Linked DNA regions of Homo sapiens: regions 2, 3, 4 and 5 are each linked to region 1. The links are contacts of gene promoters, found by promoter capture Hi-C in human tissues and cell types (Jung and others, 2019). All regions are on one chromosome and are shown on one strand. Each heading gives the region's core, a stretch centred on a gene start or on the middle of the fragment in contact. The rest is flanking DNA. Distances are from core to core; before and after follow the strand shown. Region 1 holds the start of CLHC1 (clathrin heavy chain linker domain containing 1). Region 2 overlaps EML6 (EMAP like 6). Region 3 overlaps PNPT1 (polyribonucleotide nucleotidyltransferase 1). Region 4 overlaps PPP4R3B (protein phosphatase 4 regulatory subunit 3B). Region 5 overlaps EML6 (EMAP like 6).

Evidence for each region. The method cuts DNA at HindIII sites, captures the fragments that hold promoters and counts their contacts. A contact is called where the count stands out against the background at its distance.
Region 2: a contact is called between a fragment that was not itself captured here and the fragment with the promoter of CLHC1 in region 1, in 1 of the 25 tissues and cell types used here (H1 embryonic stem cells).
Region 3: a contact is called between a fragment that was not itself captured here and the fragment with the promoter of CLHC1 in region 1, in 1 of the 25 tissues and cell types used here (pancreas).
Region 4: a fragment that was not itself captured here is called in contact with the fragment with the promoter of CLHC1 in region 1 in 1 of the 25 tissues and cell types used here (hippocampus).
Region 5: a fragment that was not itself captured here is called in contact with the fragment with the promoter of CLHC1 in region 1 in 1 of the 25 tissues and cell types used here (hippocampus).

The regions. Positions count from the first base shown.
Region 1 is chr2:55,230,892-55,233,618 of GRCh38, forward strand. CLHC1 (clathrin heavy chain linker domain containing 1) reads right to left here and starts at 1,402. Exons shown (of 13, transcript NM_152385.4): 1 at 1,332-1,402. RPS27A (ribosomal protein S27a) reads left to right here and starts at 1,797. Exons shown (of 6, transcript NM_002954.6): 1 at 1,797-1,817; 2 at 1,917-1,981; 3 at 2,472-2,526. The coding sequence starts at 1,934. RefSeq lists enhancers at 1,447-1,876, 1,897-2,076. The HindIII fragment of the contact is 6,944 bases long and covers 1-2,727 here.
Region 2 is chr2:54,793,736-54,796,462 of GRCh38, forward strand. All of the region lies in intron 2 of EML6 (EMAP like 6), which reads left to right. Among named protein-coding and RNA genes, the nearest start is that of EML6-AS1, 44 kb to the left of the region's middle. The HindIII fragment of the contact is 3,012 bases long and covers 1-2,727 here.
Region 3 is chr2:55,643,001-55,645,500 of GRCh38, forward strand. It overlaps PNPT1 (polyribonucleotide nucleotidyltransferase 1), which reads right to left. Exons shown (of 28, transcript NM_033109.5): 22 at 2,349-2,432; 23 at 1,637-1,720; 24 at 319-425; 25 at 158-213. Among named protein-coding and RNA genes, the nearest start is that of PPP4R3B-DT, 26 kb to the left of the region's middle. The HindIII fragment of the contact is 3,308 bases long and covers 1-2,500 here.
Region 4 is chr2:55,611,587-55,614,313 of GRCh38, forward strand. All of the region lies in intron 2 of PPP4R3B (protein phosphatase 4 regulatory subunit 3B), which reads right to left. Among named protein-coding and RNA genes, the nearest start is that of PPP4R3B, 4.7 kb to the right of the region's middle. The HindIII fragment of the contact is 4,245 bases long and covers 1-2,727 here.
Region 5 is chr2:54,945,866-54,948,592 of GRCh38, forward strand. The region is part of intron 28 of EML6 (EMAP like 6); the gene reads left to right. Among named protein-coding and RNA genes, the nearest start is that of RTN4, 100 kb to the right of the region's middle. The HindIII fragment of the contact is 3,016 bases long and covers 1-2,727 here.

The DNA of each region.
Region 1 (2,727 bases), core at 152-2,651:
AATATGTACAAGCAACTCTAGGAAATTTTGTTGTAGAGACTAGTTGGCGGACTAGGGGATGAAAAATGTTCCAGGAGGCAGGGCGTGGTGGCTCACGCCTGTAATCTCACCACTTTGGGAGGCCAAGGAGGATGGATCATTTGAGGTCAGGAGCTAGAGAACAGCCTGGCCAACATGGTGAAACCCCATCTCTACTAAAAATACAAAAATTAGCCGGGTGTGGTGGTGGGCGCCTGTAATCCCAGCTACTCGGGAGGCTGAGGCAGAAGAATTGCTTGAACCTGGGAGGCGGAGTTTACAGTGAGCCGAGACCGCGCCACTGCACTCCAGCCTGGGCAACAGAGCGAAATTCCGTCTCACGAAAAAAAAAAAAAAAAGTTCCAGGAAGAATAAACGACTGGATTCTTCAGAAATGCCAAAACACGGGAGGGCATAGGTCAGGAAATTAAATTAGCTTCATTTACTAAAATGTAGAGTAATGGGTTTAGCAGATTAGGTTGTAAGGAAGGCAGAGGCTGAATGTCATTCTAAGAAATTTGAATTGTATCCTGAAGGTGAGGTATAAAATAATAACACACATTTACCTTTCAGAATGAATATTTTGGAGGCAATAGTGAAGGTGGGTTAGAAAGGAGGAAAGACTGGAGAGAGATAAGGAGTTAGATTCGGAACCCCTACAAGAGAAAATTAAGGTCTGAATTTGGGGATGGGGTCGCAGAGGGCAGAGGATGAAGAAATAAATACAGAAGACATTAGAAAGGACTCTGGTTTGTGGAGTGGAGAAAGGACAGGGAGAACTTGCTTCTAATTGGCCTCCTTGCCGGAAGAAGCACCCCATACATACTCCAAAAACTTCCTCTCAGATCCAAGACTCCCAATGCCCAAATTTGGAAATTCTACAACTAAATAACCATTCTGCAGGTTTCTTTTCCGTACGGCTTCACTTTAAAATTTGAAAACTCCTGAGATTTTTCAACATATTAAAGCGTGTCACACTAAGGAGTGACACACAAGACCCAGACTCTTCCCTAGGCTGGGAGAGACTCGGCGGTTGAAAGCAGGGAGGCGCTACAGGAGAGAAAGGGCTGAACCCCCGCTTCCGCAGATTTCACCTATTTTTCAGTTTGCCTGGAGCAGGCCACGCAAATTCCCTTCCCTTGAAGGCCCAAGGAGCGTCTGGTAGATTGCTGATTCTCTGCCCATCACCGCTTCTGGAAGTGAGTGAAGGACACCTTTCGTGCCCCGCACCCTTTGCCCCCCGCTTAACATTTGCTCTAGTCACTTCCGGCCCGTTCCCACGCTCCGGAAACCATTATTCCGCTTCATCCTACCTCCAGTCCTCACCTGAGTCCTTTTCTCCAAACACCGACTTCAGTGCTTAGAGATAGTAACTAGGGAATCTGGGAGGTGGAACTGCATCTTGGGACAAGTAGTCCAAGGTAGAAGAAAGCAGTGGAGAACTACAGTTCCCAGAATGCACTTCCATTTCCTACCTCTTCCCCAAGAGGCCCCCCTCGACCTCCTTTTAAAAATTCTCTTAGCCACGTTGATTGTACGGGAAAAGCCTTTTTAAAACATCTTTTACGTTGCTTAAACCTACAGTTTCGAAAGCATTCCGAAGGCTAAAGTGAGAAATAAGCCCAGGCTAGGGAGAGGAGAAACGAAGTTCACGTCCTAGTCTGGCACCGGGTTGGATTGTCGCTGGGACGGCAGTCAGGCATTTGGTGTGGTCGCCTAAGGGGTGGGTCCTTCGGCGGGAGCTCCGGGAAACCCCGTGGGCCTGCGCGGCGTTCTTCCTTTTCGATCCGCCATCTGCGGTGGGTGTCTGCACTTCGGCTGCTCTCGGGTTAGCACCCTATGGTGCCTTCTCTTGTGATCCCTGACCTAACCTGTCTCTTCCTTTTCCTCAACCTCAGGTGGAGCCGCCACCAAAATGCAGATTTTCGTGAAAACCCTTACGGGGAAGACCATCACCCTCGAGGTACGGGCCGGGTGGTCATGAGGAAGCCAAGGTCCGAATAAGGTCCTGAGGTGGATTTTAGGACCGGCGCTGCTTTCCATGTCTTAGACCATGATTCCGAATTTGGGTTCTAAAACTTAAGCTTTGAAATGAGTACCTTTTGCTGAGCAACGACCTAGAGGTGATTTTCGGTGGCCAAAGGCTGGACCTGTCTCCTCTCGAGGGGTTCCAGCTAGTTAGTTAAAACGGAGGAGCTGCGGTGGGGAAGGAGACGCTCTGCCCGCCGGGTGCGAGCACGTGTGGCCCTGCGGCCGCCGCCCGCTCTGGGCTGGGGAGATGAAGGTGCTTTCCGGTAGCCGACTTGGGAGGTTGCCCACTGGGTGGGTAATAGGTCTCTCGAGTAGGTCTCAGCCCTGTCGCTGGTTCGGTTCAGTGGTAATTGTCAAACTAAATGAGTTCTGCTGTAGTTCCTTAATGTGTAACCAACATGCTTTCACTTTAACACTCATAGGTTGAACCCTCGGATACGATAGAAAATGTAAAGGCCAAGATCCAGGATAAGGAAGGCAAGTAGTATTTTGTAGTTAAGAAAACTTAACCTGCGGAGACTTCGGCCTACCTGTAGGTGCTAGACATACCTGCTCTTGGTGATGGGGGAAGGGGTCAGATTGACAAAGCGAAATACTTGTGGAATAACACAATAGACATTGGTGATCGGGGAGCACAGTACCTAGATTGGAATCCTTGAGGTGTATTTCACTTGCGTG
Region 2 (2,727 bases), core at 79-2,578, 440 kb before region 1:
GGACTTCCAGGAAGCGGGGCTGGTTTGGTGAGTAGGGGCAGCAGTGGCAGAACTTCCCCAACTCCCACCTCCTGGTGCCTGGAATGCAGCTGTGATGGCTGGAACTCCCTGGAACTCCAGCCTAGGTCTTTTCTCTTCCTTCCCCTAGCCCCTCAATAGCCTACTAGGAGACAGTTCTCCTTCTCAAAGAGAAAGTGTCTACTTGACAGTTGATGGAACAGTTGTTACTGGTTTCCCTGAAATAGCTCTTCGGTCAATTCCCTTGCCTCACCTCATCTAATAAACATGAAAACTGACCCTTAATAAGCATTTTCCACTTTGCTGGCAGTGTACTAAGTATATTCCATATATTATCTCAAATAAATCTTATCCCAGTGAAGTAAGTTGTGTTATTATCCCCATTTCGGACAAATATAAAGGCTAAGATAGATTAGGCAGCTGGCCCTGCTGCTTGGTCATGCAGCAGGGGAGCTGGGATTTCAGCAGAGGCCTGTTGGCTTCTGGACTGTGCCATTACACTCAGCTGCCTATTCATCTTTACTCAAGTCCCTGTTAATGTAGGTCACTCAGAGGCATTAAAACACCAATTCATGGATTTCTATCGCCCTTTTCTCTGTTCTTATTATTGATATTATACAAATTTTTCTTAGCAAAATTCTTAATTTGACCCCTTGCTGACCATGTGATTTGATTACTAAAACGTTAGTTCTCAGTCCTCTTCCCTGGCAGAAACATCTGAGGGAGTAGGGACAGGACGGGGAAGGGTCAACTCAGTTCCCTTAATTCAGATACTTTCAGCACCCCTCTGGCTTCTGTAAACTGGCTCGTCCTGATGCCCCCTAAAGGATCCTGTCTGCCTAATGTTTTTTCTAGGAAAACTTATCTTACCAATGGCCCTTGCATAATGCCCCTTTTTCCTTTCAGTGGAGTAAAGGCTGGGCCACCTGTAAATGGTTAGTGCACTCAGGGATTAACTTTAATAGTAAAAAGGTCCTAAGCATTCTTAAACAAGTGTTCAGCTTACAAAAATTGTACGACATTACGCTTACGTGACAAGTGTAATACAGTTGTTTGGTTTAGTAAATGCCTAAAGGAGGGTCATTGGAGATGAATTTGTAGCTTCAGTAGGTTCTGGTACCAAGACCAGCCCTCATCTGTATGATGGCAACTGAAGACTTTCAGGATATTGATTACCTTAAGAAGGAATCATTTGTTAATTCACTGACCACACTAGGTCCCACCGACCCAGCCTTCTTGAAACTCCTTTACCTCAGAATTTTACCACGCCATTCTTACATAGTACTATTTATTCGTGTTTTTTTGTTTGTTTGTTTTTCTAGATTGGTTTTGCTTTAACTTGGTCTTAAGCTTCTGGAGGATATAAAATGAGTATAGTGAGTTTGTTTTCACACTACTATAAAGAACTACCTGAGACTGGGTAATTTTTAAAGAAAATAGGTTTAATTGACTCACACTTCAGCATGGGTGGGGAGGCCTCAGAAAACTTAGAATCATGGCAGAAGGTAAAGGGGAAGCAGGGCATGTCTCACATGTGGCAGGAGAGAGAGCATGTGTGAATGAGGTGGGGAGGTGCCACACTTGAAAACCATCAGATCTTGTGAGAAATCACTATCACGAGAACACAAGGGAAATCTGCCCCCATTATCCAGTTACCCCCCACCAGGCCCCTCCTCTGGCGTATGGGGATTACAATTGGAGATGAGACTTGGGAACACAGAGCCAATATCAGTGAGTCTCATCAAATACACGTGTGGGGGAGGAAAAGGGAAGAGGGGAAGGAGGAGGATAGGGACCAATTTAAAAAGCATGGTGTAGCATCCTGCCACTGCCAGCAAGGAGCATATGCCCCCAGGGAATGTCTGGGTCTGGCGTCCTCAGTGGGCCTCAGTACTGTACAGTCATGTACATATGCCACATGCACTGCGCTGCCCCGATGGTGCTCTAAGGAACTGACTATAAGCAAACTTTAGTATCTAGCCCCTAGCATAATATGTGATTTCCCCCGAATTCAATACTTAATACTTGAGTGAGCCTGATTCCCAGGTGAAAACGCTGATGAATGCAGAGGCATAGATTAGGGTATTAGGCAGCTACATCTTAAGAATTTAAGAACAGTGGTACTCATTCAGCTTAAAAAGCTGCTTCTGTGGAATTTGCATGATTTCTCTTTCATGGACATACTCACTGGTGGGCTACAACTGTTGGCATTAAAAATCCAGCACCAAAATCTAGATGAGATGCTTTCATCATCTAAATCTCAAAACACTGAATACGAGATAAAATTACACAAATAAGTCTTTAAAACTTTCTCAGAGAAAAATTATAACAAGGATTTCAAAAGATTCTGAAGGGAAATAAAGGCAAGTATGATACAAAATCCGTCTAATAGTATATAAGTAAAATCCCAAGATATCATATCTATCTATGACATCTCTCTCTCCATATCTACATCTAATTTTAACCAAAAGAAATCTCCTTGGGAATAAGTCTGATTAATGGCTTCTAAAAATGACTGAGGAAATATTTCCTCCTGAATTTCCTTATTCAGTCTTTACTCATTACTCTCAAAATAACACAATAGGAGCCTAAAGAAGCTAAATGACCTATTTCTTCAGAGAATCCATTTCTTAAAGGGAAAATGAAATATTCCCACTTCAGGTGGAATCACATTTATATAACCTGTGCATTTTTTTTGAAGTGTATTGA
Region 3 (2,500 bases), core at 1-2,500, 410 kb after region 1:
CTAAATAGGAGGCTGAGGTGGGAGAACTGCCTGATCCCAGGAGTTCAAGGCAGCTGTGAGGTACAATGGCACCACTGTATCCCACTGTGGGTGGCAGGGTGAGACCCTGTCTCTAAAGAAAGGAAAATGCTCAGCATAGTATATTACTTGATATTACCTGATTTCAGTTATTGTGGCGGTATATACTGCTCCAAATTCTAATTGCTGCTCCTGCTGTAAGTGCAAAATAAGCCATAAGATTCATAAAGAAAACATCAACAAAAAGTAGAAAAAACAAATATAGCTATATGATACGTAATTAATATGATCTATACTTACATCATCCTTGCAGATTTCAGTAATGAAGTCTCTTGCCTCATGCATAGCACTGGGTGTTGGTGCAAATACAGAAAACGTTTCTTCATCCACCTGACTAATAGTTACACCTTTTAAAAACAAAATGTAACATATTAAAGTTAACTTGGCTGGGCATAGTGGGTCACATCTGTAATCCCAGCACTCTGGGGGGCTGAGGTGGGAGGATCACTTGAGCTCAGGAGTTCAAGGCCAGCCTGGGCAACATAGGGAGAGCCTGTTACTACAAAAAATAAATTCAAAAATTAGCTGGACCTGGTAGCATGTGCCCACCTACTTGGGACTCACAGTCGGGAGGATCACTTGATCCCAGGGGTCAAGGCTGGAGTTAGCTGTGATTGTGTACTGCACTCCAGTCTGGGTGACAGAGCAAGGCCCCATCTCAAAAAAAAAAAAAGTTAACTTGCTCATTCCAGTGGAAACTCGTCTTAAAAATAGATGTGAGAATAGGAGGGACCTATTAGTAGCTGGGTGGAGTTATGCTGTATTTAATCATTACTTTAGGAATGAAGGAATTCATTCATCAACAAATACACTCTGCATACTTGCTAGGTACCTGGCATTATACTAGGTAGGCCCTGGGGATACAATGGTGAGCCAATATGCTTGATTTCTTGAAATTCACCATCTAGTGAAATCAAATATATCTATACAAATTTTGGAGAGTCTGGTTCTGCTCTCTTAATTACGAGTAGAAACTATAATAGAACCCTTTCCTTACTTTTTTTCTTTCTCCCGCTTACTCTTACGAGGGGTGAATAAATGAATAAGGGACAAAATCACATCAGTTTCTCAGTGTTAGCAAATGGCTAAGGTGACAGTGCTTCTCACTCTCTTGCAGTAACCTCAAACCTTGAAGTACGAGGTAATTCAAACATTGCTTCAGGAAAAATAAATTAAAGCTTTTTTTTATATACTCTTTAAATAAAAGAGTTAAAATAAAACTAAGTGAAAGTAGCAGAATAAAAAGAAATAACTAAGTAATAATTCCTCTAAAGTTAAAAACTAAAAATTATTCTAGATGTTCAACTATAAAATGTTGCAAAAAAGTCCTGATGAATTCTTTGTAATCCTTCTTGAATTTAGTTAAGAATGACCATTTGCTAATTTATTAATAGGCACACAGAAAACTCACAGTCAAGACACGTCATATCCTTTTCTCCTGGTCTTTCTCTCATTTCTCAAATAAATATATATTTAAAGCAACATACTAGAGATGAAATAGCAAACTTTTATGGTCTAGCATTTAATTAAAAAACCCCAAACTTCATACAACTCTTACCTGTTTCAGCCTGAAGTTTTTTTAAGTTATAGCCACCAGGTCCAACAAATTTTGCTCGTTTTGATAATGGAACCTGAACAGTTTCTGGAACGTAATACAGACAAATATATAAACAATTCAACTACATACATGAACCTAAAACATGCCATGGTCACTTGAGATTTTTTTTTTTTTTGACCTAGACACATGTAAAAATATTTTACTATAAAACAGAAAAGTAGATGATTAAAATTACTGAAAACTGTTAAAGAATATTCCCTAAAATTTAAAGCATTTTAACTACAAAAGTATTTAAAATATTTTCGTTTTGTGCACTGGGTAAAAACAATTTAAAAGCAGTAATATTCATTCATATATTAATGTTTATCTTACCATGATCACTAAAATTTTTTTTTTTTTTTTTTTGAGACGGAGTCTCACTTTGTCGCCCAGGCTGGAGTGCAGTGGCGCGATCTCGGCTCACTGCAAGCTCCGCCTCCCGGGTTCATGCCATTCTCCTGCCTCAGCCTCCCGAGTAGCTGGGACTACAGGCGCCCGCCACCACGCCCGGCTAATTTTTTGTATTTTTTAGTAGAGACAGGGTTTCACCGTGTTAGCCAGGATGGTCTCGATCTCCTGACCTTGTGATCCGCTCGCCTCGGCCTCCCAAAGTGCTGGGATTACAGGCGTGAGCCACCGCGCCCAGCCGATCACTAAAATTTTAATGTATTACCTACAACAGGTCCATTTTCTTTTCTAGATGCTCGAGGTTTTGAAATAGTTTTGTTCATGATCTGTAATATCTCCTTTTTTGCCACTAGAAGAGAAAAACACAAAAATTATAACTACATAAAACAAATATGATCTGAAATACTGTACTCTTAG
Region 4 (2,727 bases), core at 67-2,566, 380 kb after region 1:
CTCATTCTAACTCCTTTTAGGCTCACAATTTGGTACTTCATTTATGAAAGAAAAGATGTATCTTGAGCACACAATTTAGTAGTTGGCTCATTTTAAAACTATAATGTTAAAAGAAGAATGTTAAACATTCCCCTCTGAATTTACTCAATTTTTTTTTTTGAGACAGAAAAATCGCTTTGTCTCTCCACCTGGAGTGCAGTGGTACAATCATGGCTTACTACAGTCTCGACCTCCGAAGCTCAAATGATCCTCCCGTCTCACCTCCAGAAGTAGCTGGCACTATAGCTGCGCACCACCACACCTGGATAATTTTTGAATTTTTTTTGGTAGAGACAGGGATCTTGCTATGTTGTGCAGGCTGTTCCCGAAATCCTCAGCTCAAGGGATCCTCCTGCCTTGGCCTTCCAAAGTGCTGAGATTGCAGGTGTGAGCCACCATGCCTGCCATAGTCAACATATTTTAATACAGCAAAATGGCCTATAAACATCTCATTCACTTACTCATTAAGTTTTTAATAAAAAACCCGCTAATGGAAACAAAAAATTTAACCCATTACTGCAGTCCCAGCTACTGGAGAAGCTGAGATGGGAGGATCACTTGAGCCTAGGAGTTCAAGCTCAGCCTGGGCATCATAGCAAGATCCCATCTCTGAAAACAATTTTTTAAATTTTAACTCCACTACTGAACAACAGACTTCATGTGATATTTGGAAATTAATAACTTTCTAGACTAATTTATTGAATAACCTAAATGATGCCTTTTACAAAGGATAATTCTAACAAACATAGAAAAATGTTACTGTATTTGGAAATCTCAATTTGTGTAACTTCAAATAACTACAAATTAAGCTGAATACAGCCACTGCTCACACCTGTAATCCCAGCACCATGGAGGTGCTGAAGCAAAAGGATCACTTGAGGCCAGGAATTCAAATCAGCCTGGGCCACACAGTGAGACCGTCTCTACAAACACAACAACAACAAAGTTTTGTAATAAATTTTTTAAAGGTGCAAATTTAGCCTGGACAACATAACGAGACCCCATCTTTACAAATTTTTTAAAAAATTAGTAAGGTTGGCCGGGCTTGGTGGCTCACACCTGTAATCCCAGCACTTTGGGGGGCCGAGGCGGGCGGATCACGAGGTCAGGAGATCGAGACCATTCTGGCTAACACGGTGAAACCCCATCTCTACTAAAAAATACAAAAAAATTAACTGGGCGTGGTGGCGGGCGCCTGTAGTCCCAACTACTTGGGAGGCTGAGGCAGGAGAATGGTGTGAACCCGGGAGGCGAAGCTTGCAGTGAGCAGAAATCGCACCACCACACTGCAGCATGGACGACAGAGCGAGACTCCATCTCAAAAAAAAAAAAAAAATTAGTCAAGCATGGTGGCTCACATCCATAATCCCATCTACTCAGAAGGCTGAAATTGGAGGATCGCTTGAGCCCAGGAGGTTGAGGCTGCAGTGAGCTGTGATCAAACCACTGTACTCCAGCCTAAGGGACAGAAGAAGACCCTCTCAAAAAAATTATTTTCAAAAGTGCAAATTGAAGATTTGGGTGAAAATATGAAAAACCATGTCTATTACAAAGAAACTAAGTTTAACATAACCCCTAAATGGCCCTATGATTTCAATTAGAAAAGTGTACTCAATTTAAACAAAAATAAACAGGTAACATCATTCACACAAGTTTTTCACTCTTCTTCAGTGTTTCCATATTCTTCTCATTACCAGAGTTCTCTTATACACCTGAATGTTATGTTGCCAAAAAAAAAAAGCCCAACGAAAAAATAAACTATTACAAAACCCCAAATAGTATATTATTTAAATGTGATTACAGAAAACATTTCCAAATGGTGTAATTTTTTTAAATAATGCATTTTTTCCAATACTTTATACTAAGTGTATACAAAAATGCTAATTATCTAGAACTAATTTTCTAGTAGAGCAACATTATACATGAAATTACCTACATATCCTAATGATTCTAAAGTATTCACAGAATCACTATGTATTTTTAACTTATGTTGGGTGACTATTTTAAATACAAACCTACTCCATAATGTGATGTTTCCAAAGTAACAACAGCTAAAAGATCTTATATACAATCTGAGAAGAATCCATTATTAAACCTAAATTTGTAGGGAACTGTTTATGACTTAGTTACATTTAAGAACAAAGTTCCTGATAATTATATTCATGCAGATAAGGGAAATATGGTAAAAAAAAAAAAAAAATTAGTATTTCTTTCCCCACAAAGAAGCAAGCAAACAAAAACAAACTAAAAGTGATCATCTGGTAAAAACTCGGTATAAAGACAGAGATTAAGAGCTGCCTGGCTGACTGAGAAATTAAATTTACTTAAATGTCTACCTTACAATGTCTAAGGTATAGGAAACATCTTCAGGTTTTCAATTCAGGACAAATGTTTAATTTGCTTCTCCATCAAAAAAGACACACAATATTTTCTAAACAGAGAAAAAAGCTATGAATTGAATATTGAAAATTTTAAAGTATTTCAAATAACTGATTAAGAATGTGTTATATACATAATTGTTCTAACAGTAAGACTTTGTAATAATAAGCTGCACAACAGACAGAATTTTATTCCTCCAACTACGAAGTACTTGTTTCTGGGCATCCAAATTTTCATAAACCTTGAAGTGGGCACTGACGCTGTAAATGTAATCCTAAAATAATTTATCTTCCTTCAAAAATCTCTGCC
Region 5 (2,727 bases), core at 126-2,625, 290 kb before region 1:
GGGATGACAGCAGGAATTGGCCTTCCCATGATCCTGCCCTGCCCACAGAATGTGCCAACTGTTTCCACAGGGGGTACAGGGTTGTGACTCTCCCCACAGGCACTGAAGAGCAGGGCCGACTTGTTACTCAACACCAAGCCCCAGGCTGGAGTTCACAGCCTCTCCCTGGGCTTCCTGCCTTCACTCTGTCTTCTTGGCAGGCTTCTCCTGCTCTCCAGAGCTTCGGCCTGTGTGCCACCCTCTCTCCTGATTATCCAGTTTGTTTGCTGTCTTGCCAGGCTCCCTCCTTAAATTTCTTGCCAATGGAAGCTCTTTCTCCTTTGTTCCCTGACCCTGCCCCCCTGCCCATTCTCCTCAAAGCCTACTTGCCCCACCAGGCCCCTTTGTGTCTCTGCTCCTCCCACCTCCAGTCTCTCACCCCCTCACCTTCCCAGATCTTGGCCCCACTGGGTCTCCCTGCCAATGCCGGGTTGTGCCCACAGCCTTCCTCGCACTCCTGTCCTGTGCCAGCTGGGAATGACCAACTCTAATGAGCTGATTGGACTGAAAGTGAGTGAATGTCCTCATGCCTCCACTCCTTCCCACCTCAGCAAAGCTTTTCAGAGTCCCATTTCTGATGGAATCTGAATCTAGAAGGATTTAGATCCACGGAAAACTGTTAAACCTCCAGTGTTTGGCTACGTGTGAAGTCTCTGGCAGTCCCTCCCACATCTGATGTTATGAACACTGTTTATAGATGCCTGGAAAGAAGCTTTTAATACTTGTATTGTGTTTTAACTTGCTTTCCTTTGGAGGCAGGGAATTGTCAAGTAAGTATTCACACCGCTCTGGAGACAAACACAGGTGTTTGGTGAACATCCAGTACTAAGTGTTCACGCAGAATCCACAACCGCGAAGGGTCAATACTTAAAATCCGCTGAATTTGCCACAATGCAGGTTTCTTCCCCTTGCTCCTCTCATCTTCAGTTTTGAAGCAATACAGCTGTAAACATATGCTTGCGAAATGAGAAAGAAACATTGAGATTGCTTTACCTTTCGGTTTTTTTCTGAAAATCAAGGTGAAAAAAAAAAGCATCGGATTGCGTCTGTGTATATATATACAATCTCCTGTATATATAAATACACGGTGTTTGTGCTTGTACGCATACTCTATATTCACTGTATAATATATTACATATTATACAACCTGTGTGTCCCCTGAAATCGAGCCCTGTGTTTATCCTCAAATAATGCCTTATGAGCCATGCCATAGTTCCAGTGTCCTCTTGCTCTCCTCATAGCCCCTGGCTTGCTTTTGTCATACACTTAAACGTTCTTAGGTGAAAGAAGAAACCCACGGATTTCATTTGAAAGTCCCACTAAAACAGAAGAAAGAGCAGATGTCCTGGGAAGCGATAATTAATGTGAAGGAAGTGTCTAATTGTGAGAACTGGCATGCCCCCAGTCTCCCGATTTTGCTCAATTTGGTGGCGATGATGTCAGCCGGGGGTGTCGTTTTGCAGAGATGTGCTGTCTACCCATTCTTCAGTGGTGATTATAATACCGTTTGGTCCAATTATCACTTATGATTACATAACGTGTTTTGATTGAAGAGTTTCTGAGAAAATAAAGGTACCCTGTCTTCCCCTGCACACAAAAAGAACCCCCGCAAGCCATTCGAGCAGGCAGGCTGACCTACCAAGAAACACTGGGAATTATTAGGCTAAATTATGAGTTGAACTTGATTTGGAAACAAAGTATCCATTGTACATAACTCCCCACGACATCCAGGAAGATGTCATTGTTTTTCTGACAGCAAGTTTCTCCCCAGCACACTCTAAGCAGAGTCCCCGGGCGCATTCGTAAAGTCACGGAGAGTGTGCGGGAAGCATTGACAAAGCTTCCTTTTCTCTCCCTATTCTGTAGGCGCTTTAGTGCAGAGTTTGCCCAGAGACGCCAGGGTATGAGCTTTCTGAATTTGTAGACTGGTGCACTCTTTCATTTCTGTTTTAGTTCTTTGCTGGCATGCTGGGGAAGCATGGTGTGTGCCACACAGGAATGTCTGTTCACTTGGAAAATGCTTGTGCATGAATGAGGTGGTTGCTAATGCGGCTCTAAACTGTACTAAGTTTCTCACTTGGCTTTGTTTGCTGCTTTCAAGGGGATCAAGGTAATCCTTCTCTTTGCATATCCCGGGAGCAATAACTAATTACTTTGGAACATGCGGTGGGAGCTGGTACAGTTCTTTCTCGACCCATCCATAGAGAAATCTGATTTAAGGAAACCCCACGTCACCAAGAACTGGCGTACTCCTCTAGGATTCCATTAGGGCTTACACATTATAAAATCTCTTCATTAAATTTGGAGGCCCCAGACCCCAAAACGGAGGCGGGAAAAGCAACCTTTGGTGTGGTAGCAGCTGAATGCAGACCCGAGTCCTGAGGCGAGGGCGGAGTGGGAGGCGGGAGTGCTGTCTGTCTCCTGTCCCTCTGCTTCCTGCCTGCCTGTCTGAGAAGTGAGGCCGACCTAGGCACTTGGCCTGTGGTCCTTAGGGCCCTTTCCGCAGCCTGGCTTGTAAGTGCCACTTCACGCCACACCATGGCCATCGACAACTTAATTCTGAACAACATGAGCACATCCCTGTCTGAAAAAGGTCAGCAAGTCCAGGAAATGTGGCCTCCCGCCCCTCATGGTCAGGCTTCTCCTTGGTTTTGAACCAAGCCCCTCTTGTTTCAAGCCCACATGTTC